Regions from separate parts of the Homo sapiens genome. Here regions 2, 3, 4, 5 and 6 are each linked to region 1. Evidence: promoter capture Hi-C in 16 types of primary human blood cells and fetal thymus (Javierre and others, 2016). All regions are on one chromosome and are shown on one strand. The core of a region is centred on a gene start or on the middle of the fragment in contact, and the rest is flanking DNA. Distances in the headings are between cores, read along the strand shown. Region 1 holds the start of SHH (sonic hedgehog signaling molecule). Region 2 overlaps LMBR1 (limb development membrane protein 1). Region 3 overlaps LMBR1 (limb development membrane protein 1). Region 4 overlaps RNF32 (ring finger protein 32). Region 5 overlaps RNF32-DT (RNF32 divergent transcript). Region 6 overlaps LMBR1 (limb development membrane protein 1).

The links. The method cuts DNA at HindIII sites, captures the fragments that hold promoters and counts their contacts. A CHiCAGO score of 5 or more calls a contact.
Region 2: a contact is called between a fragment that was not itself captured here and the fragment with the promoter of SHH in region 1, in 2 of 17 cell types (naive B cells and naive CD8 T cells). The highest score is 5.4, in naive B cells.
Region 3: a fragment that was not itself captured here is called in contact with the fragment with the promoter of SHH in region 1 in 1 of 17 cell types (endothelial precursors); the score reaches 6.9 in endothelial precursors.
Region 4: a contact is called between a fragment that was not itself captured here and the fragment with the promoter of SHH in region 1, in 1 of 17 cell types (endothelial precursors). The highest score is 5.8, in endothelial precursors.
Region 5: a contact is called between a fragment that was not itself captured here and the fragment with the promoter of SHH in region 1, in 1 of 17 cell types (endothelial precursors). The highest score is 5.2, in endothelial precursors.
Region 6: a contact is called between a fragment that was not itself captured here and the fragment with the promoter of SHH in region 1, in 13 of 17 cell types (M1 macrophages, megakaryocytes, naive B cells and 10 more). The highest score is 11.7, in M1 macrophages.

Annotation. Positions count from the first base shown.
Region 1 is chr7:155,810,745-155,815,462 of GRCh38, reverse strand. SHH (sonic hedgehog signaling molecule) reads left to right here and starts at 3,000. Exons shown (of 3, transcript NM_000193.4): 1 at 3,000-3,640. The coding sequence starts at 3,341. RefSeq lists an enhancer at 57-700. The HindIII fragment of the contact is 3,572 bases long and covers 2,933-4,718 here.
Region 2 is chr7:156,791,080-156,795,880 of GRCh38, reverse strand. All of the region lies in intron 5 of LMBR1 (limb development membrane protein 1), which reads left to right. Among named protein-coding and RNA genes, the nearest start is that of LMBR1, 100 kb to the left of the region's middle. RefSeq lists a cis regulatory region at 3,099 and enhancers at 4,006-4,793, 2,847-4,801, 2,802-4,801, 3,850-4,801. The HindIII fragment of the contact is 4,707 bases long and covers 1,198-4,801 here.
Region 3 is chr7:156,742,659-156,747,169 of GRCh38, reverse strand. The region is part of intron 9 of LMBR1 (limb development membrane protein 1); the gene reads left to right. Among named protein-coding and RNA genes, the nearest start is that of RNF32-AS1, 85 kb to the right of the region's middle. The HindIII fragment of the contact is 895 bases long and covers 1,994-2,888 here.
Region 4 is chr7:156,673,864-156,678,554 of GRCh38, reverse strand. It overlaps RNF32 (ring finger protein 32), which reads right to left. Exons shown (of 9, transcript NM_030936.4): 8 at 2,692-2,859; 9 at 1,425-2,136. The coding sequence ends at 1,900. LMBR1 (limb development membrane protein 1) reads left to right here. Exons shown (of 17, transcript NM_022458.4): 17 at 1-764. Among named protein-coding and RNA genes, the nearest start is that of RNF32-AS1, 16 kb to the right of the region's middle. The HindIII fragment of the contact is 3,398 bases long and covers 134-3,531 here.
Region 5 is chr7:156,492,736-156,497,052 of GRCh38, reverse strand. The region is part of intron 2 of RNF32-DT (RNF32 divergent transcript); the gene reads left to right. Among named protein-coding and RNA genes, the nearest start is that of LINC00244, 46 kb to the left of the region's middle. The HindIII fragment of the contact is 2,181 bases long and covers 1,910-4,090 here.
Region 6 is chr7:156,808,031-156,812,281 of GRCh38, reverse strand. All of the region lies in intron 4 of LMBR1 (limb development membrane protein 1), which reads left to right. Among named protein-coding and RNA genes, the nearest start is that of LMBR1, 83 kb to the left of the region's middle. The HindIII fragment of the contact is 831 bases long and covers 2,391-3,221 here.

The DNA.
Region 1 (4,718 bases), core at 1,751-4,250:
CAAGCCCGAGCCGAAGGCAGAGTGAGGAGGCCATCTAGCGGCAGGGGCCGGAAGGAGGGGCAGGGGCAGTGCCCAGGAGGGAGCCTGGGGGCTGGGGCAGAAGAGGAGGCAGCTTCTGTCCTCAGCAGGGATGCTGGGCAAGGGGTGGAGGTGGGGGAGGGTGGGGGAGGGAAAGCTGGAGGAAGGAGCGAGGGAGGGATGCGCGTGACCCCAAGGAAGAGAGGCAGAGCCCAGGTAGATGAATAACGGAGCCCCAGCATGTCCGGATGTCTGGCCTTGTCAGGGAGGCTGGTGTTTGGAGCCTCTGCTGGTGCGGGGAGGGGGCCAAATGGTCTGGGGGGGGGGGGGAAGGCAAAGAGATAGAGCCACCTGGCCTCTGGAGGGGAAGGCAGTGCTGGGCCGTGGGGAGCAGGTGGGATGGAAGGACAGGGAGTGAAGGGCGGGAGGGCAGAGCAGCAGCTTCTCTGGGGGGCTCAGTCAGCAGCCTGGTCTATAACTGGGATTGCTTTCTGCGCCGAGCTCCCCTCAACCCATGCAGGGGGCAGGCCCTCTGAACTTAGGCGTGGGGGCAGGCTTTCTGGCCCATCATTATTTCACTCTGGAGGATCGGCCAGTCTACAAGGGGGGCGGCCCCTGAGGTGCTCTCCAGGGTGTCTAGGGCTGTCTGGAGATGGAGGGGAGGGAGGGGGCCTCACGCCATCCCTTAGGGCAGGGAGGTTTCAGGAAATGCCCTGAGTCACCCAAGCTCAATGCCAAGCCACGTCTTCTCCCTGCGCTCTGCTAAGAGGGAGCTGACCGCACCTGGGGGCACCCCACGTCCAGCTGTGCCCACAAGGAACTCTGTGCAGCTCAGGCTTTTGCTTCCAAAAGCACACCCCACCCACCCTGCCCCTTGCAGAGGTGAGCTGTGTGCACATGCCACCTCCCGGCAGGGCTGCACACCCAATCTCTCAGGCCCCAGGGTGGCAACCCGTGTGGGGGGCCTTCTGCCTGCATTTGGAAGGGAGTAAGTAGCGGGGAAAGACAGGGGGAGGAGGAGGGACTGGGGCAAGAGGAGATGCCAAGGGTGGAAGGCAGGGCAGTCAAAAGTTTGCAAATGTCCCACTGGGCCAGGTCGCTGGTCCAGCCCAGGCACCACCCAGTGATGTGACATCCACATGCTGTGCAGGTAGACACATCAAACAGGCCGGCCTCCTCTGGAGAGAACACGGGTCCTGTTTTGTGTCTGTTTTTACTGGGAACGGGACAGGCAGCGCAGACACACCGCCTGGAGAATCCCTGGGCTCAGCTGAGCTCCAGCTCCGCTCAGTGGAGGCTGCCGGGGCCTGGTCAAGTGGACGCTGCTCCCCCACGGTGCTCTCCTCCAGGGATCACGATTCGTCACAAACCATGGAAAGGAACAAGAAAGAGAGGCGGGAAGGGGAGCCCGGGTCAACCTCCCCAAAGGCACCCAGGCCACCGAGTCTTGTTAACGCTCAGCCTCTCATGCCCAAGACAGATGTGTCCTAAGATGCTCCTCTCCTTCTCTCCCCCACCACACACACAAAAAGTTGATCTGCAAAGGGAACTTCTGGAAACTTCCATCGTTTGAGGGCTGAGCTTCACAGGGGTCCTCTCCCCCTCCACTCCAAGGGCCCGGGGTCAAGGGAGAGTGTTTAACTTCACAGGGCCACATTTGCAGCATCTGATGACTCCTCAGGGTCAGGATTTCCCCTCCACGTAAATAACCCTCACTCTCTAATCCTATGCTAGAGGAATCATTGCACATGAGTGGGATGGCGATTGAGAAGGGGAAGGGCATGATCTGTTTTTTTTTTTTTAAAAAAAAAAAGAAAAGCAGGGTTGAGAGGGAGCTTCAAATTTTATTTTCCTGGTTTACTTAGGACTTTTGAGTTTTTTTCCTTTTTCTGCAAAAAGTGAGGTGATTATAGACTCAAAGATTGCCACCTCCTGGGCACTGTGCCCTCTTTCTAGGAAGCCCCTCGTTAACCAGAACACTGTTCCCCCAGGGCCCCTGACCCCTTGGGCTGCAGCCCCTAGGACTGGTGGCTCCTGTGCCTGAAGACTGCTGGCCTGCTGAGCCCCCACACAAGGCCAGCTTTGCAAGGAGCCTGAATTCCACATTCAGCTCACCCCTGGCTCTGCACTTTGCTCTGATCGATCGTGGGGGTTGTGTGAGCACAGCTTCGCCCACTCGCCTGCCCCCCCCCCAACACCCTGCAATGGCCTCCACACACCCAGCGCACACACTGGCCCCCACTCTCTCCCCTGTGCTGGGGTGCAGCCCCCAGACCTGCTTTGCCCATCCACCCTGACGCCCGCAGTTCACTCTGTAACTGCCCTTGAGCACGCCTCCATCCCATTTGCAGAGCTCTACAAAAAAAAAAATGTATTAATTGAAGCACAATAAAAGAGCAGTATTTTTACATTTTTCTAAGGCACTTAAAGCATTTCAAATACCAGTGCTTTAAGTTATGGTCACTCATAATTATCCTCGGTCCACAGAGGCTGAGTCTTCAGGAGGGGCTCAGTCCTCTTTCTTCAAAATGCAGGGAGAGCCAGCCTGCACTATAAAGTCCCTGGGGAAGAAAAATTAAATAACAGCTGGGCAGCTGTGCCCCTCAAATGTGTGAGCGACTCTGTGCTTGATGACTGAAGCTTGCGGGGGTTTAAACTGTCCTTTAAAAACTTAAGTTGGTTTTAACTGAAGCACCTACCATTCCAGGGAAAGTCAGGGGGAAACGCAAGGATGTACACAAAGCCGGGAGTAACTGCTGTTACCACAAGACATGCGCTCCTCCCTCCCGCCCACCTTTATCTTAGGAAAGATTTTTTTTTTTTTAACTCGAATCCTTCAGGTGAAAATAAAGCAACAGCAGCAACAGAAAAAAAAAACGTAGTCTTCTTCAGGGTTAACATCAGAAGACAAGCTTGTGCGGCTTTGGCCAATCAGATGCGCCCCTGGCAGCTATAATATAGTGCTAAAGGCAGCCTCTCTCACAAGCTCTCCAGGCTTGCTACCATTTAAAATCAGACTCTTTTTGTCTTTTGATTGCTGTCTCGCGACCCAACTCCGATGTGTTCCGTTATCAGCGGCCGGCAGCCTGCCATTCCAGCCCCTGTCTGGGTGGGGAGCGGTGGAGAGTCCCCCGCAGCCGCGGCGGGCAAGGTTATATAGGAAGAGAAAGAGCGAGGCAGCCAGCGAGGGAGAGAGCGAGCGGGCGAGCCGGAGCGAGGAAGGGAAAGCGCAAGAGAGAGCGCACACGCACACACCCGCCGCGCGCACTCGCGCACGGACCCGCACGGGGACAGCTCGGAAGTCATCAGTTCCATGGGCGAGATGCTGCTGCTGGCGAGATGTCTGCTGCTAGTCCTCGTCTCCTCGCTGCTGGTATGCTCGGGACTGGCGTGCGGACCGGGCAGGGGGTTCGGGAAGAGGAGGCACCCCAAAAAGCTGACCCCTTTAGCCTACAAGCAGTTTATCCCCAATGTGGCCGAGAAGACCCTAGGCGCCAGCGGAAGGTATGAAGGGAAGATCTCCAGAAACTCCGAGCGATTTAAGGAACTCACCCCCAATTACAACCCCGACATCATATTTAAGGATGAAGAAAACACCGGAGCGGACAGGCTGATGACTCAGGTAGGAACCCAGCGCCGGGGCGTGGAATGTGTGGCTTTCCAGGGGGTTACGAGAAGCCGAACACTTCCAGACTTAACTCTGTTTGCTCTTCGGGCAGATAGGAAGGTGATTTCACCCGCTCCTTCCCCACCCACCTGCCCGCCCCCCATCTCTTCCTCTTCCTGGAGGAGAATGGAGGTCAAGGGTCCAGCTGGAGAAGTTTAGGGTGTGGTGGGGGTGAGGACGGTAACAGACGTGGTTCATTATGGCCCTGATTTGATGAGTCTTGCTACAATGGCCTTCCCCATCCTACCTCTGCCCTGGCTTGTAACTTGGGGAGACCTTCACTTTGGGGGCGTCGGCCCTTTCCAAGTCAGGAGTGGAAATGGAAGGAGAGGCTGGGAATCCCCCTCCCACAAACATGAAGTGGTCTCCTGGTACTGTACGAACGAACGAACGTAGCCTTGGGCATTGGAGCTCAGAGCCCCCACGTTTCCCGTTGCCTCTGTGGTTTTCTTTCCCACCACTACCCCCACCCTGCACCTCCCCACCAAAGAATTCTCAACTGGAAAAGCCAGGAGGCGGTTCTGACAAAAGGCAGGGGCTCCAGGGGAGACTCCGCCCGTCCCTGGGTGGCTGGCTGTATCGCAGAGCTGGCTTTGCGATTGCGTGTCCGCAATTGTGCCCATCAGAGTGTGAATGTATTGATATTTCTTTAAGGATGCTCTTTCGTTCTTCCAAGCCCGAGGTACCTTAGGGGAGGGACTTAGAACTTATTGGCATTGCATCACTTTAGTTTTCAACCTGCTTGCATAAGAATTAAGAGCGAATAAATATTAGTGTGGGGGGAGGGGAAGCTAAGCAAAATATGAATTCCTCTCTCTCTCCCCACCTCCTTTGAGATTTCTGAGCTGCCAATCTCCCAGCCAATTCTAGACTTTCTGAAACTCCATGCACGTATAACTGAAGCCAGAAATGGGTTTCCTTGCAAATATAGGTCAACATCCTTTTTATTGCCCTATTAAAATATTCAAGTCCTACCTTTAGGGCTAGGTGCGTACAGCGGCTGATGGAGTGGCGCTGGTGGGGCGCAAGTGCA
Region 2 (4,801 bases), core at 2,302-4,801, 980 kb before region 1:
TTAAGACAGGCAATTAAAATTTAGTCAATGGCCGGGTGCAGTGGCTCACACCTGTAATCCACCACTTTGGGAGGCTGCGGCAGGAGGGTTGCTTGAGGCCAGTTTTTCGAGACCAGTTTGGGCAACACAGTGAGACCCTGTCTGTACTAAAAATAAAAAAATTAACTGGGTGTGGCGATGGGTACCTGTGGTCCCAGCCCCTCTGGAGACTAAGGTGGGAGGATTGCTTGAGCCTGCAGGTTGAAGCTGTGGTGTGAGCTGTGATTGCGTCACTGCACTCCAGCCTGTCTCAGAAACAAACAAAAACCAAGAATAAACAACAAGAAGAAAGGAGGTCATTGTAGACTCTTGAGAAGGCAATTTCTGTAGAATTTTGGAAACATAACTTTTGATGGATATTCATTCATTCAACAGAGAATGAATTTTATTGAGAATTCAGTTTTATTAACCAATTCCTTAAGTAGCAGTTATTATGCTCTTTATAGGAGCTTGCTGGGGACACAGATGAAAAGATGGGCCTCTGGCCTTCAAGGGTCGGACAGTGGGAGAAATGACAGATGTAAACAAATAAGATGCAGTTTGAAGCCCTTTTATATAATGAAGTCCTATGGGAAACCCTGAAAGGAAAGGATATCTTGATTTTCCTGGGGAATCTGAGCAGGCTTCACAGGGGAAGTCAATCTGGACTTGGGCTGGGACTTGAAGGATGAGCAGGGGTTTGCTAGAGTGTGGCATTCCAGGCTTGAGCAAAGGCCTAGAGCTCTGACAGTATTGAGGGAATGGCCGGTACTTAGATACTGGAGAATGGTGAGAGATGAGGGTGCACAAGCCGCTTGCCAGGGTCGAATTCTGGAGGCCTGGAGTCCTCCATCTGGTCATTTGAGTTTTATGTTGTAGGCAACAGAGAAGCCAGAATAGGATTTTTGAAAATAATTTTTTTTCATCTACCACTTGAGTATATTTAGAGATAAATATGCATTTTAGACTTTGTGCAGGTCACAAAGGAAAGGAGTACAAAGGAGTACATGCCCCACACAGTGCAGAACACTGATCTGTAGACACGGCACCGAATCAGTCCTGCACCTGACTCTGTGACATTGCCTGCCGACGTTTGCTTTCAATAAGCAAAGTTCTTCCCTCTTCCTGACACTACCTCTTGTGTAATAGTACCACATACAAAAAACAAATGATAAAGCTTGGTGTGAACTATATTTTCATATTTGACATTATAAACAGTATCTACCTAATTTATACTTTTTATAACAATCTAGTTGAATAGATTGTTATTTACAATAACAGGGTGTAATATGGACAAACTCTTTGCCTCCAAGTTATTTTCTTCCCTTCTTGTGAATTAACCAACTAGGAAAGGGACTTGGCTAAATCTGTTTGAAGAATTAGCAACAATCTCCAGAATTAAAAAAGAAAAAAATGACAAAAAATCCCAGTGACATGTCATTTTTCTCCTGTTCCCCCTTACAGACTTAAGGTCAAAGGGAGAATCAGCTGAGGAGGGATCATAGAAGTTAATTAGAGATATTTCACACATACGATTGTACAGCACTTACTTCCTCTATTTTAAAAAAATTTTTAGTCTTTTTATACATGATTAATATTCTTTTCTTAGCACATCTTTGACCATGTTAGTTGCCTAAAAATCACTCGAGGGTCACCAGCTGTGTTTCTTGACCTCAAATGGGACTGAAATATTGAATGACTGTAGGATACAGGCAACTATGAATCCAATTAATTCCCAAACACAGCAGAAGGTGGAGCCCCGGACGACTGCCATTTGTCCAACTTGGGAAGTTGTAATAGGTGCTGCAGAAAACCAAATTAAAGAATTTGGTTGTTAATGCCGTTAAAGGAAGGAGGGAGATGGGATTCTAGCTTGAAGGTAGGGAAAGAGGCCAGCGGAAGATGGTGAAGCTGCAACCGTGAGAAAATTTGGCATCAGTCAGACTGCCTGGGAGGTGACTTCATCTAAACCGCGGGGTTGCTTTCTATAAAATGGGTGTAATAATGATCTTTACTTTATTGTATCATTTTGGTGATTAAATGAGATGTGATTATTCATGTAATGCACATAGCCCAGGACTTCATTTAGTAAATTAGCTATTATTAAATTACCTTTATCTTCGAGGTAGTCTTTAAATGCATTTGACTAATAAGTATTCTATAAAATATCACTAATCACTAATAAGTTTTCTAGAATACTTATTATCACTAAATATTCTATAAAATATGAGCCTCAGAAAGCAAGCAACTGAATACAGTACAGTCATCTTTTAATTCCTCACAGATTATTATCTCAGGCGGTTTTAAAATATGTTTCCCATTTTGCAATGGCATGTACTGAAGTAGAATAACTCAGCTTGAGCATTACAGCTAGCATACTTTGAAACAAACTTGTTTGAAGATAAGGTGTGTTCTAGATCCTAGTAGAAATGTTTAGAAAGTTTTAAAATTAAGCTAATCAAGACATGTTATTTTAAAATATTCATATTTTTCGGTTTTAAAATCAGTCACATGAAAGTTGGAAAGGTTACTAATATTGTGTCGTTAAGTCTAAATGTGTTAAGCATACATTTGAGCCCTTTCATGTTGTATATTTCTGTAGTCTAGAATCATTTGTTAACTACCTGTGTAAGTTCTAAATAACATTTTTAAAGATACATGGTTCTTTACACAGTGCTTATTAGAATTAACTTCGTTGCTTTATTGAAATTAATGTTATGATTGATCACAGTCATTAGAATGTTTAACATATTTGGCGAATAAGTACATATATTTATGTATATTCCTTTAAAGCTGCTTGCTCATCGATTACATTTGACACATATAGTTGCTGAAGTGATACTGAAGAGAGGCTAGAAACATTTCTAATGGGTAGATTCAGCGCACTAATTTGAGCAATGACAAACTTGTAATATGGTTAAGTAAAATTTCCTTTTTTTTTTTTTTTCCTGTGGCCACCCTCCTGGTGCTGTTTTACTGTGTCTAAGTCTGGTGTATCCCTAAATGGCATATGGCCCCACTCTACTCCCATGGATTCCCCTGGGCAATCGATGTTCAAACAGCTTCTTGCATATTGTGCCGAGATGCGGAAATTGGCCACTGGCCATGGGCGGATGCAGAGCTTGAATTGAAAATCAAATTAAGCAGAATTCTCTACTTAGTTTTTAATTAAACCACTATGTTAATTCAAACAGGACATATTAGGCCTGGGGGGTTGACTATGTCCTTTTAAGGGCCTTCAATAGCTTTGCTTCTCTCTTCTTACCGTGGCAGCGGTGTGTGTTTCTATTTTATTAGGACCATCTCCTTGCTATTCCCTTACTTTATAATTCTGAAGTGTAAGAGCATAGAAATGGTTTTGATAAAGTAAAAGTTTTTTTTTAGTAAGCAGCTAACTTTTATCTTGGAATTTAGACTTATTATTAGCAGTTAAATGTTTACCAAATTTAGATTATTTTGCTGTCACCTATGTGTATTGAGCTTTAGGTATGTTCATAGGTATTTGAAAGTGACTCCGTTTACATCTTAATTTTTCAACTGATAAAAAGGTTCCATTTGGTGATTTTTGTTTTGTTTTGCAGTAAGCCTGCTTTTTCTGCAGTATGTGGCTCTTAGGGCTCAGGGAACATCTTAAGGCAGCCATCACTGCTGTGCTTATCATACCTCAGATTGGCTGTATGATTTATCTCCCTCCTCCACTCCAGAAAAGACCTCCAGGTTATCTGGATTAATATCAGAGATGTTTTCTGATTTTGTAAGGAACTCTGGAGGTATAACCTCTGGCCAGTGTTTAAATGGTAGTTAGGCATATATTTGTTTTATATTATATCTTAACATCTTATTTTGAATAAAAATGTCAGGAGGAAAAAAAATTCAGCAACTTAATGAAAGTGGGAGAAAATATCTCCATATGATTGTTATGTAAAATTTATGACAGATTAATTCATAAACCCAAGATTTTTCTGGGAGTAAATTTCTATTGTACTTAACTTTAATGCCTATGTTTGATTTGAAGTCATAGCATAAAAGGTAACATAAGCAACATCCTGACCAATTATCCAAACCATCCAGACATCCCTGAATGGCCAGAGCGTAGCACACGGTCTGTAGGATTAAGAGGTTAACTCCTATAACTTCAAACAAAGTGCCTGATAATAAAAGCAAAAAGTACAAAATTTTAGGTAACTTCCTTTCTTAATTAATTGGACTGACCAGGTGGAAGCGAAGAGTTCTGTGCTGGTGCTTGGAATGTCTATAAAGCTGAGCAACATGACAGCACAATAGAGGAGGAACAAAGATTTTTTTAATATGTTTCTATCCTGTGTCACAGTTTGAAATTGTCCTGGTTTATGTCCCTTTTGGCAAACTTACATAAAAGTGACCTTGTACTGTATTTTATGACCAGATGACTTTTTCCCCCCAGTGGCTAATTTGTATCAGGCCTCCATCTTAAAGAGACACAGAGTGAGTAGGAAGTCCAGCCTCTGTCTCCACGAGCTTTCATTGCATTCTTTCATTATTTTTGCTCGTTTTTTGCCACTGATGATCCATAAATTGTTGGAAATGAGTGATTAAGGAAGTGCTGCTTAGTGTTAGTGGCACATGCGCATATTTGGCCTGGTTCTGGTGGGTGAGAGGAAATCACAGACAAAAGGGAAGCCCCTGCTGGGAACCCTGCAAGGAAATTTAACTTGGGTCATGTTTTGATCTTAGTGTTTATTACAGAAAATGAAGCCATATCTCACTAACTATTGTTACGTGTTAATTTGATTTTCCCAACACC
Region 3 (4,511 bases), core at 1,192-3,691, 930 kb before region 1:
AACAGTGTAATTTTGAACTAATTGGTGTTGAACTGCCAATCACCTAAGGGGAATGCAAATAGATACTCTTACAATTTCCTTTGAGGTAGTGAAATCTTATGTTGGGGCTGGAAGAAAAACAGAATAATACCATTAAATTGACCTTAAATGAGCTGCTTTGTGGTTTTCTTGGAGAATCCCTTTTTATTTCTTGTGACTTGTCTAAACAGGTTTTGTCTACCAGTTTGACTTATTGACTAGACAATGCTGACACTGGACATTTTAGATTCATTTGGAAATAAAGTAATGATAATGCAGTTCCTCGGGATATTTTAAATTTTTGGTATAACTTAAATCCACATAATGCCTCAGTATTTGTTTGCAGTATGTCATAATTTCTTACGATAGTCATTGTTTCCTTCTGGTCATTTATAATGAAATATTTACTCAAAAAAGCTTACATTTCTCCCTTAGGTATTGCTCTATTATAATAAAGAGTGGTCTTGTCCTTGAATAATGTGTCATCTCAGATGAATCTAGTCATTTAATAAAAGTATGATTTATTTGAGGACAACAAGAATGTAGTTTTGATTTTTATATGCAAGTCAGTCAGTATTTATTAATTACCTATTGTGTGCCTAGTGTTATATCACCTGCAAATAGAAGCACAGCATTTCAGAAATGCCATTTTAGTTATTTTCCTTTGAAGAATCATACATTGAGTGGTCTAGACATTTGTATTGAGCTCTGTAAACATACCCACAAAGTAGGCATTTTTGTCTTTTCACTTAATTTCAAATTGGCATCAGGAATACTTTCTATTCTGATGTCCATTCTCTTTTGAAATTCTAAATACTCATGAGCTTATTTTTTCTACCCTTCAGCTGGTTACCAGAATAATAAATCTTTGCATGAATGGGGAATGAATGTAGTTTGGAATTGTATTTCCAGTCAATGAGATATACAAGTTAAATGAGCATTAATTACAGATACACAGTTTAATTGATAAAGAATGGAGATAAAAGTAAAATATATTTATTACTAAGACTATTATGTAGTTTAAACTTTGATTCAAAGACACCTGAAAACCTTACAGAGCTGTGCTGTCTTTCTGTAAATCACATTATATGGAAATACTCATTCGTTATGTAACTTAATTGCTTCCCCCTTTGCTGTGGCTGCCAGAAACTCAAAACTAACTTTGTAATCAAAGTTTAGTAGCTTGTGTCACATTACCTGAATATTTCTGTACTAGCTTTATCCCTCCTCTCATAAATATATCAATTATATATTAACAAGTAAAGTGATAAAACTCATGAACTCTGAAAACACTATAAAACGTTTCAGTGGATTTGAGATCTCAGGTTCTTTGAAAGAGAGGGTATTCGATTGCTGTCTCTTCAGTGATGGGCAGAAGTGAGCAAGGAGCTGCAAAGGGAATGGGATTTACTTCTCCTAGAAACCTGGGATAAGACTGGAATTTTGTGATTCCCCAAAGGGGCTTAGAAAAAGAGGCCTCTGAATTCCCTTAGTGAGATTGCATTTGCCCCTGTGTTGCAAAGGTTTGTCTGATCTTGCTGGCCTTGCGTTGTTGTTCTGAATCCTCCTTTCAGTCTCTCCCTTTGAGAAAGGACCACTCTTTGCACCTAGAGAGACCCAGCGAGGTTTCCTCCTCCTAAATCAGTTTTTCTGGCCAGTTGGTCCCTAGCCCCTAGGAACATAATTGAATTGCTGTACCTTTTAGCTGGTTTGTCACTGTTTGAGGGAGTGTCTGACCTGATTAGAGATGAAGGGAACAACAGAGGTGGATAGAGAAAAATTACCAGTTGTTTAAGGTTCAGTGAAGAAGACCAAGATAGATATCTAGAACAAGTGGTTCCCACTTGAGTTAACAATTAATGGGAGAGACAAATAAGAATTCATACCTAATCCTCAAAAGTAGTAAGAATGTCCAAGGAAATGTCATTAGAACAGAAAAAGACTGATGCTGAGAACTTGAAAAAAATAAAAAGCTTAATAGACAAACAAAAAAAGAAATAGTCTTTGTGGTAGTCAGAATAATGGTTTCCTAAAGATGTCCAAGTCCTAATCCCCAGACCTTGTGAATATGTTACCTTACATGGCAAAGGTGACTTTGCATATGGGATGAAGTAAAGGATCTTGAGATTATTCTGGATTATGTAGTGGGCCCACTGTACTCACAAGAGTTGGTATAAGTGAAGGCTGAGATGGTCAGAGAAGGAGACATTGGTAATGGAAGAAGAGGTCGGAGTGACTCAAGGAAGGGACCATGAGCCAAAGAATGCAGGTGGCCCTCAAGGGCTAGAAAAGACAAGGAAATGATTTCTCCCCTAGAGTCTCCAGAAGGATTATAGTCCTGCTAACACTTTGATTTTAGGACTTCTCACTTCCAGAGCTGTAAGACAATAAATTTATGTTGTTTTAAGCCAGAAACTTTATGATAATTTGTAGCAGCAGCAGCAGCAATAGCATACTAATATAGTCCTTCAAAAATTGAATTAATCATCTTGCAGAATCAAGGGGAAGAACTATTTTGTGTCACACACCAAAAGTACAAAAAGAAGGAAAGTATTAATGAAAAATAGACGTGAAGTGCAGAGCTAAGATACTGAATGTAAATAATAGGCATCTAAAAGGAGAGAAAAGAACAAGTAGGAAAAGTAGGTAAATAAAAAATAGAAGAAAATATCAATGAGCTTAAGAAAGACTTGAGTTCAGGTTAAAAGGCCACACACTCCTAGGCAAGATTATTCAATAGAAAATCAAAAAGATTTGGATTTAGTTTGTAAGATTCCTGAATTCCAAGAACAATGGAAAAAAAAAAAAGCCCTTACAAACTTTCACATAGAAAAATTCCAGACAAAGAAGAGAGAGATCAACATCAAGCTTCCCATTTGCAACCTGCTACTGGTTGCTGAATAGTACCCATAGTTGTAAGGGAGGAATAAAGACTGCAGTTGAAAACTCAGCTGAGTGTGGCGGCACGCACCTGTAGTCCCAGCTACTCGGGAGGTGGGAGTATACGCTCGAGCCCAGAAGTTCGAGTCCAGCCTGGGCAGTAATATAAAGTGAGACCCTGTCTCTTAAAAAAAAAATTCATATATTCCCAAAGATGTCATTCATCTGTTATGCATTCCCTCATTTGTTCGTTTTATATCTGTATATTGAGCACCTAATTTGTGCCAAGCACTATTCTAACTTCCATATTGAAAGAAACATTTGGTAACAGTCTTGAACTAAATATTGTTAAAACTGTCGCAGCAAGATCCAGGAGTTGGGGGCATGGGTGGGCAGCAGTGAGAGAATGATTAAAGCGTTGTGAGAGCTTCACTTTGGTGTGGGGTAAGTTACTCAGAAAAGCATCCCTGTAGGGCTAGGACTGTGTGATGCTGATATTATAATGAAAAGTATATCTAAGTATGAGTATTAAAAATGTGAAAGTAACCATTGAACTGCCAAATTAACATGGGCAAAAAGGATAAACTAAAGTTTCACTAGCTGGGAAAGAAGAAAATGAAGAAATAAAGAACAAATATAATGAGCAGAAATTACAGAGTTACATAAAAAGAGAAAGAGCACCAGTCTTCCTGTCAACTTGAGGATGGCAGTACTTTTAGTCCCTTGATGTCACTGTTGAGCTGCTGGAAAATCCTCTTTGAAGTTTGCTCTGTGTCTAAACTTCTCATTATATGAAATTATTTCCTCATTTTTAAGCTACTTTGAGTTTAGTTTTCTGATTCAGTATATAGTGTCCTAATAGATACACCCCCTTTTACGGATGAAAACACTGAGGTTCAGAGAGGCATAAACCTAAAAAGATGAGAAGTTGAGAGGAGAAAATCACAATAAAATTTTGGAATTTAGAAGACCTGAGAAAATTTAGCGGACTTAAGTAACCAGTTTCACAGACCCAAGGAAGCTAAATCGTAAGTCATTTGTGCTTGATTTATAAATTTATACCCCAGAATCCCCAAAAGTCCCAAAAAGTGGCACCACCAGACGAAGTAGAGTGAGCTACTTCATAAGAGAATTGATTGGAAATCCTGTTTATATAATGGTTTGATTGCCACATCTTTTCGCTCCATCCAAGGTACCAATTTTCTAAAGGTTTGTATCATGAAGGGATGTTGAATTTTATCAAATGCTTTTCAGTATCAAATGAAATGATCATATGGTTTTTGTCCTTCATTCCATTGATATGATGTATCACATTGGTTGATTTGAATATGTTGAACCACCCTTGCATCTCGGATAAATCCAACTTCATCATGAATGATCTTTTTAATGTGTTGTTGAATTCGGTTTGCTAGTATTTTGTTGAGGACTTTTGCATCAATATTCATCAGAGATGTTGGTCTGTAGTTTGCTTTCTTTGATGTGTCTTGGTATCAGGGTATTACTGGCCCCTTAACAAGAGTTTGGAAGTATTTCCTCCTCCTCTGTTTTTCAGAGTAGTTTGAATAGGATTGGTATTAGTTCTTTTTTAAATGTTTGGTAGACTTCAGCAGTGA
Region 4 (4,691 bases), core at 583-3,082, 860 kb before region 1:
ATTGTATAAAAGCTTGCACTGTTTTCCTGACTTGACCTGACAATGTGGCGTTATCTTCAAATTGTCCAGAGAAGTAGCTACTTCATTCAGGTCCTTTTTAGCGTTCTGTGGTTGCAACTTGGTCTCGCAAGCTTTCGATGGGCGCGCCATTCCATGGCCACTTTTCAGTAAGAAAATTGCCTGATTTTCTGTTAACTGTCACAGGCTGCCCTGGACCATTCCTCAGAACTCATGGGATTTTCGCGACCCTCATCCTCAGTGAAGTTAGATGACCATTCCTGCCTTTCATCCCACCGATTTTCCTAAGTATCTGTTGCCTGCAACTAACACTAGTTCCTGTGTCAGTAAAGTACTGCACTTGGTTGCAAAGAATAGAGATGGACTCTGCCAACATAGGCACGGAAGGTTTACGGGGTGGATGGCATGGCTCACAGATGTGATGAGAAAGCCCCGGAAGAAGTGTTGGGCACAGCCTTAGGCACAACCTTTCCTGGGCTCTTCCCATCACTGAATGATCCATGTATCTCCGGGACTCTCCTTCTAGATCCAAAGTTTAGGGCGGCGGAATCGGACTGCTCTGGCCTTTGACACGTGCCTGTGCTTTGCCTGTCAACGCTATGGGGAGAGAGATGTCAGCTTACAGAAAATTGAGGTTCTGTGATTCAGTTTCCCTCTGCTCTCTTAGAATAAAAGTGCTTACTCATTGTTTAAAGCATTCTCCAAATTAGTCTGCAAATTTTTTGATAGTATACATCCTTAAAAAATGAGCACATCCCAATATATGCATATTTATTCATAAATGATACATACATATGTAGCTATATAATGTGTACATCACAAAACATAGGAGAGTATTTTTTCTAAGGGATGAGATAAGAATAAATAGAAATTTTGGCATTTCTTCTCACATTAGATGCTGGGTTATTCTGAGCCCATGCCATGTGCACACCCACTTGGCCTCTTCCTCTTAGGCCTACACCCTGCCCTTTCCTTGCCCCTTGTAGTTACTGTGGCTGGAGTGATGAGCGCCACTCCCAAGCATGGCCTGGAACAATGTCCTCCTGCCCCTCCACCAGCAGTGACAGGATTCACTGGGGACTCGGGGGCAAAGGAGACTGTGTCACAAGACAAAAGGAGCCAGGGTCACACATGGTGTACCCTCGCCCTGCCTCACCCATGGCTGACATGGGTTGGACACCTCAGAAATCATGTGTCTTCAGCGAGCCACTGAGAGTTGGGGCTTTATCTGTTACTCGGCTAGGGGTAACCTAACCGATGAGACTGTAACTGGTTACTGTAAATAACCAAGCTCCCAGTAATAGTAAACCAGTGACAAAAACAATTCTTATCCAAAAAGGTTCACTTTTTTTTAAAATGTGTGAACTAAAACAGTCTTTATTGCTCTAAGACATTAAAATTTGCACTTTTTTGATGTTGAATACCACTGAATATTTTATTTTTATATTTTATTACACAGAAATACAGCAATTATTACAAAACGAGTATTAGGAATGGCAAAGGCTTTAGGACAGACTATTAGCGGAAAACATTTGGAACTTAAGGAGTGTTTTACATTTGGAACTTACTTTAAGGAGTGTCGTTCAGACACTAGCTATATCTTAACCTCAATTTTTAGAAGTAAGCAAGCTCTCATTTTTTGCTATTCATATTTGAAGTGATTAAACTCATAAATTTGAAATTTACTTTTTAGAGACCAAAGATTAAAATTAGGTGGGATGTCAGCTTTTAAAATATACTAAGATTTCCTACAACTACCAATAGCTTATTTCCCTGGGAAACAGATTACATTGTAGTACTTAACCCAGAACTCATGCAGTTCATCCAAAATGATGGTAAACTTTTTTCCTCAGAATTACCTAACTTTCCTTGACTATGAATTCAACATTCAAGAATCTTCTTCTGGTAGCAGGAGCGGCAGAGAGGACAGGCATGGAAAGGAGGCCTGTCTCCCACGGAGAACTCCTCTAGTGCCAGCAGACACGCATGGTGGAACACATGTGAGCAGGACAGGAGGGCCATCTCTCTGGAACGCCTGCCTGCACCCACGCGCTGACCGCCAGCAGCGGAGAGAGGGGCCAGGCAGATGGAGCACTCGTGGGTCTCCCGGCGCAGAGCCTGCGGCACACAGGACGGGAAGAGGCCACGCGGGTTAGTTTCATCACAGCAGAAAGTTACTTAAACTGAAATGCGAACCATGTGCCCCGAGACATGGGTCTTCGAAACATGCGGAAGTTTCATTCTGTGTTAAAATCACATGCATTTTATTTATATATATACATATATATATACACACACATATACTCTGTTACTCCTGGGAACTGTGGAAAGGGTTAGTAACCCACCTGTGATAAGCAACATCCAACAGGAACTTCCAGAATTTCAAACTGAAGGGACCTTTGCCGTCACCCTAAAGCCCATGAGGAAAGTCCTACCACAGGTGCAGGGGCAGCTAGGGCAGCGGTTACCCCGGGACTGACACTCCTAGGCTTCCCAAAGTGAGTCCTCGACCTCCCCCGACATGCCACCCCCACAGCCTCCACGGCTGCACCCCGGGCCTGACACTCCTAGGCTCCCCAAAGTGAGTCCTCGACCTCCCCCCACATGCCACTCCCCACAGCCTCTGCAGCTGCAGCTGAGTCTGCTGGTTGCCAGGCTGCCAGCCAAACCTACCTGCACTTGGATTTTCTCCCATTCCTCTTCTGTGATCTCATGGCCACATTTTTCTTCCAACTGCTGAAGAACACTTCGATTTATGGCCAAGCACTGATCGATTTCTGCAAAGAGCTCTTCAATGTTGGTGTTGTATGAGCACAGGATGCGGTGGCTGATTTCTGTGAACTGAGGAGGAGGCGGGGGCGGGTAAGCTCACACCTGAGCTCGGTGGAGGTTGCAGGGAAGCGCTCTCGAGCCTGACCATCTATTTTGGTAACCTTCCTCGTCTCTGTCTTCGAATAATACTTTTTAGGGAAATAGATATATGTCTATTTTACTTAACTATAAATCCAGATAATCTGGACAGATGACCACAAGAACCCCTATCTGATGGAGTCCAGAACACACTACCCCAAAATACGGCACCTTGGCATACTGAATATTTTAAGGAAAAAACATTCCTTCCCAAAGGAATTTGAGAAATGACAGCTGCAGGAGGGACCGTCTGACCTCTCCCCACCCCTAAAGTGGGTCACAGGACCCTCCTGTGAGAGGCACCCTCGTCTCCAAAGACGGAGGGAGCCGGGAGGAGACAGCACACAGGCCTTGCCGTGGTTCCCACCGACCACCCTCAGCTCACCCCTTGTCCTGTCATGCTTCCCCACGACCTCTGTGTCCTCATCCAACCTAGCATAGAAAGCGCTCAGGCGTTACTGTCTCTTCGGGTCTCCGCTGCCCCTTCGGGTCGCCGCTGCCTCTTCGGGTCTGCACTATCTCTTCCGGTCTGCGCTGCCTTAGGAAGGCTTCCATACCACATGGGACTTACTAAGTAAATCCGTGTAATTTTCTCGTTAAGCTTAACTTACAGGGCTCCAGCTGAAGAATTTAGGAGGGTAGGGGAAAAGGGTATATTGTTTCCCTCCCCTGCTGTTTTCTTGGTTGTGAGCTTTGACCATTAGCAGGAACACATTTGAAATTAAAAGTTGAGAGAAAAGTTCGAATTTCGCAGGATCAGCTCTGTCCCATAGAAACATACTGTGAGCTACGTATGTAATTTTAAAATTTCTGGCAGTCACATTAAGTTTTTTAAAAGGTGAAATTAATTTTAATATTGTATCTGACCCAACAGATCCAAAATATTATCACTTCAACGTTTATTAATTGAATACAGTACTTTGTTTTTTTTGGTATTTTTGTTTGGTTTGGTGGAGACAGCATCTCGCTCTGTCACCCAAACTGGAGTGCTTGGGGCCATCAATGCTCACTCAGCCTCGGCCTCCCGGGCTCAAGCCATCCTACACTAGAAAGGTCTGAGTCATTACAGAGTGGCCACCAGTGTCATCTGAGGCACGGGTAGGTGGCTCATTCAGGGCCACACCAGCGGCTCCTTTTTAGTACATGTGAAGAGTGTAAAGCAAAGGAGAATAAGGTGTGTAAAAGGTTGTGCCAATGGTGACTGTCAGCCACACTTCCTGCCCTCTTGCTTGTCCTTTCAAGTACAGAGCTGTGGCTCACCCAGAGATGACATTTCCCATTCCCCCATGCCCAGGTGGGGCCACGTGAAGTAGTTCTTCCAGATGGACGTGGCTCATGTCTCTTCTGGGTGTTCTCCAGGCCCGGGGGGTGGCAGATAAAGGGCAGAGGGAGACAGTTCCCGAGCCCCACAGGCTGGCATGTTGCCTGCAAGCCAGGACACCTGAACTGTCCTATGAGACCGAAGCTCTGGCTTTCAGTCACTGAAATTCGGGGGGTTATTTGTCCAGCAGTGAGAAGTGCCGATTCAGCAGTTACATCTGCTTCATGGAATCCGGCTTGAAGCACAAAGAAGGATGAAATGAACAAGTCCCGTGGAGATCTCACACATTTAGATATGTGATGGGGAAAATGCATTTTGGATGGTCCATGACTGTCCAGGTTTCAAATATTCTAGTCTACTGGAGTCCTCACGTTCACTTTTTCTTTTTTTTTTTTTTTTATTAATGTGGAGCAACCTGGCAGAACGTAGTGTGTATTTAAAT
Region 5 (4,317 bases), core at 1,751-4,250, 680 kb before region 1:
TCCTGTTTTCTGTGTGGAAAGGGGAGCGTTGAATATATCTCTGATGCTTCTGTTACATACCAGAACATAAAATGACAGGGGTGTGTGTGTGTGTGTGTGTGTGTGTGTGTGTAAGTACACGTGTGTACTGATATATTCATTTTGGGGTGGGCGAAAGGGAACATTTATCAAATACTTTCTTTTTCTTTTTCTTCCAATAAGTCAACTCTTACTCTTGGTAGTGTGTGGACAAAGTCATGGAATATACAGGAAGGTTGTGTTGACTTTGTTTTCAGTCCTCACCCCTCTTCTTGGGTTGAGGTGATCGAACTCTGCCCGTACTTGCTAAAACGCTCCACTCTGTTTTAATTCTTTGTAAATAGAGCTCCCCCTCCCCGCTACCGTGGCTTATTCCTGCAGTTCCATTCACTACCACGTTCAGCCTAATCACATCTCCTGGAAATAATATGAGAAAGTTATGCTGTTTTACTCCATCAGATTTAATAAGTTTGGATGGTTTCCAAGTACTAGGCATTAATCACACTTAAACCTGGGCCTTGATAGTTCATCCACCCGGAGTATTCATGTCAGAGACATAAAACAATCTGCTTTAATGCTCAGAGTCCTCTTGAAAACTGAGCACTTGCCTCGTGTTAATAAAACTTGCTTTCTACAGTGGGGCTGGGAGAGGACAGGGCATGGGGATTTTTATATCATGTAAAGCATATCATGGGTGCATTTTCCTGCCCTTGTAGTTTCTAAACCCAGTTTTAAAGCTTTGCAGAATTATATGAAAAAAATTAGGCAACAAGGTAAGCCTGGAATAAGGAAGAATTAGTCAAACCTTGGCAGCACCCAGAGTTTGGTTTACATCAAAGCGGTGGAGAGAACGTTGTCCTTCCTACCTGACAGCTCTCCTCAGCTCAGGGTTTCCATTCTGGGATGACAGTGAAATTGGACACAACAATTGTCCATTTTCCAGTGGGTGGGTGTGATGTGCCCTTTCTGTACAACTCTCCAGGACAGGAGGTGGGGGCTGCGGGGAGACAGACGGATGGAAACTGACACACACAATGCTTTCTTCATCTCCCATCTACATTTGGTCTGTTCCTTAGGTTGGTTTGTGGGTTCCTTTGACATGGGGTTCCTTTTACTGCCTTCCCTCCATCCCCGTGAAGAGAATGCTTTCTAAAACACTTCCCATTGTTTTGTTTTGAAATGAGCATCTTCATGTCGCAGCAGGATTATTTTAATGTTTAACCAGAGTGACAAAAGTTTTCACTTGTTAGTATTTAGCTAAAGATTCTACCGTGTCATGAAGATAAATCTGCTCAGGTGGACAAAGAGTACGTTGAGGACATCTGGGTGCCAGTGGGTGGTGTTTGTTGATGCTGGGGTACCTAATAAGTGCTTTTGATTCTGAGTCTATAGAACGTGGATGCTGCAGGCTGTGCCCACCTGGCTGTGAGACACAAACACCAGTTACACTGTGCACTTGGTCCTGAAAGCCTCTAGGACAGCAGTCCCCAACCTCTGTGGCACCAGAGACCAGTTTCGTGGAAGACAATTTTTCCATGGACAGGGAGTGGGGATAGTTTTGAGGTGATTCAAGCGCATTACATTTATTGTTCACTTTATTTCTATTATTATTATTATATTGTAATATAGAATGAAATAATTATAAAATCCATCATAATGTAGAATCAGTGGGAGTCCTGAGCTTGTTTTCCTGCAACTAGATGGTTTCATCTGGGGGTTATGAGAGACAGTGACAGATCATCAGGCATTACAGTAACATGATCCTCTCATGCACAGTTCACAGTAGGGTTTGTGCACCTATGGGAATCTAATACCATTGCTGATCTGACAGGAGGCGGAGCCCAGGCGGTAATGCGGGTTATGGGGAGCGGCTGTCAATACAGAGGAAGCTTTGCTCACTGGCCCACTGCTCACCTCCTGCTGTGTGGCCCAGCTCCTAACAGGCCATGGACAGGTATCGTGGGGGAGCTGGGCACCCCTGCTCTAGGAAATACAAGGTGTGGCCATCTCTGATACAGGATGGTGTACATGCTAGGTGTGGAGGTAGCACTTGTGTGTTTCACATCATGAAACACAGGGCAGTGGCTACCAGCTGCTAAGTGGGGTGGGAAGATGATGAATTTGAGATGTTCTGAGAGTGACAGGCTAGGCTCGGAGATGTCCAGCAGCTGGAAAGTCCGAAAGGGAGGGAGGCCGTTCCTCACCCTGGTCTGATTTCAAAGTCCCTACTCCTTCCACTCTTTTCACAATTTCCCGATCCTCGCATGGGCCCTGGGCCTGGCCTTCCATTGGCTCTCACATGCCGCTGCCACTGGAGGATTTTCTGGGAGGGTGCGTGTCTGCATTTTATTTTGTTGGATGAAGATTACACGTGCAAGGTATTCCAGCCTTAATCTGGGAATGCAATACATGACCTGGGAATGCAATAAACACACAAACACAACAAATGAAACAAACCTTAACATGACCTGGGCATTTCTATTCACATCGTGGTTGACTAACATGAGGCATGTTAGATGGCTGAGTAATTGTTTTTGTTCTTCTTTATAATCCATGCTGAAGAAGAAGTTTGTCTTTAGAAAATGTGGCTCAGATAGAGATGGAATTCATTTGCTTCAATTGTGTGAACATCTGAAATCGGCACCTGTCTAGGTATTAATGTTCCGAGTTTAGAAGGTGTTTAGCTGGCTGTGTGTTTGTATACACGTAAACCCGGTATTGATTTGAAATACACGTGCACATCAGCAAGTCGCGGTGGAGTTTGGTGGCACACCTTGCAATGCTGATGGGATGCTGGGAGAGAGGGCTTATGCCTCCCAGGGAGCTTGCAATTTGCATGGTAGTTGTAATCCTTCCTGAAAAATGTCTTGATTCACGTGACATCCGACTGGGCAATACCATGCATTGTGTGATTCATCCCTTAGACATTGATTTAAGAAATATTTATTGAATGTCTGTGATGAGCTGGCCACCCTCCAGATGTTAGAAACAGAGGAATGAGCAAAACAGAGCAAGTCCCTGCTTTCATGGGAAGGAGGAAGGCAGAAAATACTAATAAAATAGATAAATAATATAAGTTAGGACTGACAAGTGCTGTGAAGAATGAGTGTAGGGTAGGGAGAGAGGGGAAACAGGTAGAAGGTTGCCATCCACTGTGGTCAGGGAGGGCCCACTGGTACAGGACGCTCCAGCAGAGACCCTCACTTGAGTGAGTGAGGGAGCTTTGGAGGTAGCCTAAGGAAAGAACATTCTAGAAGGAATAATGAGTGCAAAGCCTCTGAAGTAAGAGTGTGCCTGGTGTGTTCAGGAAACATCTGTCGTTCTCCTTCAGTATACATTATTGTCCATATAGATTTTTTTAAATGTAACCGGAATGTTCAAGTGTAAACAAATTACCTTCCCAGGCAGATTTATAACTATTTGAGGGCTGGAACTTTTATAACTATTTGAGGGCTGGAACTACATATTGTAAATGTATCTTGTACTTTTTAAATGTCCAGTCCAATGTTGAACCCATAATAGGTAATCATCAAATACATGTTAAATTTGATGGAATCAGTGATTTAAAATATGAAATTATTATTAACTGTAATGTAGTGAATATGGAGTTGACATGGGGCATTTTCCCAGGAAAAGAAAAAAATTTAGCCATCTCAACCTTTCTTTTCAGTTGCCCCTAATGTTAAGATTTTATATAGTCTCCTCAGGCTCAAGTTAATCATCGAATACTGTCCCAGGAAATGGCCCAAACTGGATATTTGATATAATTTTTTCTGATTATAGAATATCTGTAAGATTACAGTTCTGTCTTCAGAGATTCTACAGTTTAGCAGATCAAATGGACAGTGGTAACATCCTAATTATAGTGCAGTGACACACAATATGCATTTTGGAAATTAATTTTGACATCACTGTAATTTTTATTATCATTTCACTATATATGAACATACACACCAATACATCACATTGTACATCTTAGATATGTACAGTTTTTATTTGTGAAGCATACCTCACTAATTGTACATCTTAGATGTGTACAGTTTTTATTTGTGAAGCATACCTCACTAAAGCTTGGGGGGCGGTGGGAAAGGCATGTTTTCCTTTGGAGCAGAGCTGTGCCCTGGAAAGGAGTGCATGTGAAGATGGAAAGGAAGGAAAAGCTCTTCGTGCACGTGGGGATTTTGGGCTTAGAGGGAATCTGCGGTAAATCACGGGGAAGCCAGGAATCCTCATGAGAGTACTCAGCCCTGGCTGATGTGGAAGCCGTGTGAGTGCAAGCTTGCGTTTCTCTGTATCATG
Region 6 (4,251 bases), core at 1,557-4,056, 1.0 Mb before region 1:
AGATTATGGCCACCTGGATAATCCAAAATGGTCTTGCTGTCTTCCTATTTGAAGGTCCATAACCTTAATTACACCTGCCAAGTCCTTTTTGCCATATGTACTGAGGTGAGTAGTATCGTGTTCCCCCAAAATTCAGGTTCACTCAGAACATCAGGATGTGAACTTATTTGGAAATAACAGTCTTTGTAGACATAATTAGTGAAGATGAAGTCATCTTAGATTAGCGAAGACCCAAATCCAAAGACTGGTATCCCCCTAAAAACATAAAGCAGAGACACAGACACACAGGGAAGAAAGCTGTGTGAAGACAGAGGCCAAGCATGGAATAAGGGCATCAGCAAGCCCAGGAATGCCAAAGATTGCAGGCAGCCACCCACAGATAGTAGGAAGGATTCTTCCCTGGAGACTTTGGAAGGAGCGTGGTCCTGCTGACACCTTGATTTCAGACTTCTAGTCCCTGGAACTGTAAGAGAGTAGATTTCTGTTGCTTGAAGCCATTCGGTTTGTGGTGCTTTGTTTCCTCAGTTCCAGAAAACCAGTACACCATGCAACATACTCACAGAAGGCTGGGGATTCAGGCATGGGGACCTTGTCCACTATGCCTACCTTGAGTCTGCAACTGAGATGTCAGAATTAGTAGACAAATACATGAAAACAATTCTTTTTTTTTTTTGAGACGGAGTCTGACTCTGTCGCCCAGGCTGGAGTGCAGTGGTGCAATCTTGGCTCACTGCAACCTCCGCCTCCCGGGTTTAGGTGATTCTTCTGCCTCAGCCTCCCGAGTAGCTGGACTACAGGCGTGTGCCACCATGCCCAGCTAATTTTTGTATTTTTAGTAGAGACGGGGTTTCACCATGTTGGCCAGGATGGTTTTGATCTCTTGACCTCGTGATCCACCTGCCTCGGCCTCCCAAAGTGCTGGGATTACAGGCGTGAGCCACCGCGCCTGGCCAGGAAAACAATTCTTATAACTATTCCATATGTTCCAGAAACTTAGAGGAAATGTTGAACATACTGAGATGTAAAAGATGTAAAAAAACAAAATTCTAGAGATGAAAACTATAGCATGTGATGTGAAAGTATATAAAACAGTAGATTAATAGCAGATTAGACATTGCAGAAGAGATTAATGAATTTGAGGACATAGCAATAGAAAACTATTCAAAAGTGGGGCTGGGCGCTGTGGCTCATGCCTGTAATCCTGGCACTTTGGGAGGCTGAGGTGGGTGGATCACCTGAGGTCGGGAGTTCAAGACCAGCCTGGCCAACTTGGTGAAACCTCGTCTCTACTAAAAATACAAAAATTAGCCAGGCATGGTGGTGCATGCCTGTAGACTCAGCTACTTGGGAGGCTGAGGGAGGAGAATCGCTTGAACCCGGGAGAGGTGGAGGTTGTAGTGAGCCAAGATTGCGCCACTGTACTCCAGCCTGGGTGACAGAGCAACACTCCATGTAAAAAAACAAAAAACAAAAAAATCAAAAAACTATGTGAAAGTGAAACACAGAGGGAAAAATGGCTGAAAAGTGACAATAGTGCTGTAGTTTGGATGTTTATTCCCCCATACCTCATGTTGAAATTTGACTCCCAGGGCCAGGCATGGTGGCTCACACCTGTAATCCCAGCACTTTGGGAAGCCTGGGTGGGTGGATCACTTGAGGTCAGGAGTTTGAGACCAGCCTGGCCAACATGATGAAACACCATTTTTACTAAAAATACAAAAATTAGCCAGGCGTGGTGGTGCATGCCTGTAATCCCAGCTACTCGGGAGGCTGAGGCAGGAGAATCACTTCAACCTGGGAGGCAGAGGCTGCAGTGAGCTGAAATTGTGCCACTGCACTCCAGCCTGGAGGACAGAGCGAGACACTATCTCAAAAAAAGAGAGAGAAATTTGATTCCTAGTGTTGGAGGTGGATCTAGTGGGAGGTGTTTGGGCCAGTGGGGCAGATCCCCCAAGAATAGATGAATTCCCTCCCGGGAGGTGGGTGAGTGAGTTCTTTATTCTCATAAGAGCTGGTTGTTAAAAAGAGCCTGGCACAACCCCCTCTCCATTGCTTCCTGTCTTCTCCTGTGATCTCTGCATATGCCAGCTCCCCTTCGCCTTTCGCCACGAATGGAAGCAGCTTGAGGCCCTCCTCACAGCAGCTGTTGGCACCAAGCTTCTTGTACAGCCTGTAGAACTGTGAGCCAAATAAATCTCTCTCTTTTTTTTTTAATAAATTACCCAGCCTCAGGTATTCCTTGATGGCAATGCAAAGTGGGCTAACACACAGGGTATCAGTGATGTAGTTGGTGTTTCTAAAGGAGGGGAGTTGAGAAAAATATTTGGAAACTTAATGGCAGAAACATTTCAAAATTGATGAGAACTATAAACCCACTGATTTTAGAAGCTTAACCAGTTCTATGTACAAGAAACATGAGGAAAACTGTACCAACGCATGTAATCTGATGGCTCAAAATCAGTGATAAAGAGAAAATCTTAAATGCATCTACAAAAAGAGACACGTTAAGTTCAGAGGAGCAATAATAAGAATCACAGCATGTTTCTGGTGGGAAACAATGCAAGCCAGATGACGTTGTGACAGTGTAGCAACAGTGTAGTCAGCCCTCTGGATCTGTGGATTCTAGATCTGTAGATTCAACCAACCACGGATCACAAATATTGGAAAAAAAGATGGTTGTGTTTATAGTGAGCATGTACAGAGTTTTTTCTTCTTATTCCCTAAACAATATAGTATAATTATTTACATAGATTTACACTGTATTAGGTATTGTAAGTAATCTATGGATGATTTAAAGTATATAGGAGGATATGCATAGGTTATATGCAAATACCATGCCATTTTACATAAGGGACTTGAGCATCTGTGGATTTTAGTATCTATGGGAGGTCTTGGAACCAATCCCCTACAGACACTGAGGGAGGATTGTACTAAAAGAAAAATCCCAGCCAGTCTAGTTTTATCCCCAGTGAAAATATTTTTCAAAACAAAGGCAAAATAGTGATAGTGTCAGATACACAAAAGATAAAAATTCATCATCAGCAGAGCTGTACATTAAAAAATGTTACAGGTTGTCCTTCATGTGGTAGGAGGTGGGTAGGAGATAGATATCTAGGAACCGTGAGCTAAACAAACCCGAGGGAATATATCTTAACTCATTTCCTAACTCTACAAAATGAAATGAAGAGCACTAGAAGCAGCAGTTTATATGTAGAGAAGCTTTTTAAAAATCCTGTGTTTAGAAAAGATAATTGGCTGTTTAAAAAGTAGTAACAATGTATTATGAATTTTATTATAGATGTACAAGTAAGTTATATGACAACGATAACACACAGGAGGAAAGCCACGGAAGCACACTGTTGTGAAGTTCTCATGCTCTACGTGAAGTGTTATCTTTTTTTTTCTAAGTGACAGCAAGTTTATTAAGAAAGTAAAGGAATAAAAGGAATGGCTATTTCATTGGCAGAGCAGCCAATAAAATCATCTGAAGGCAGATTGTGATGAGTTAAAGGCGTATATGATAAACCTGAAGACAAACCAGAAATAGCCCAACAGAGATATAGTGAATAAGTAAACAAAGGAAATAAACTAGAATCATAAAAAATACTTAATCTGTGGGAACATAGAAGAAGGGAAGCTAACACATGGGGCAAATAGAAAACAAAAAGCAAGTTGATAGATTTAAAGCTAACTATATCAATAATCACTTTAAATGTAATGTTCTAAACACTACAACTAAAAGGCAGAGATTATCAAATTGAATATAAAAGCAAGACTGAAGTATATCTGCTTGCAGGATACCCACTGTAAAGACAAAACTAGGTCAATGGCAGTAGGAGAAAAAAGATACACCATGCTAATTTTAAACAGAGCAAAGTTGGAGTGGCTATATGATTATCAGACAAGGGCAAAGAATATTACCAGTCATAAAGAAGATCATTTCATCATGTTGAAGTGGTTTGTTCACCCAAAGAGCCTAATGATACTTAGCATATATCTGCCTAATGACATATATTAAGTACATGAAGCAAAAACGGAAAGTGTAGTCAGAATCACAATTACATTCAGATATTTCAACACCCTTCTTTCAATAATTGATAGAACATATAGAAGAAAAAATCACGATATAGAAGATTTGAATAATACTATCAACTGACTTGACCTAATTAACATTTATAGAACATCCAAGAATAGAATACATATTCTTTTCCAGTACAATGTGGGCATTTACCAAGAGAGATCACATTCTTT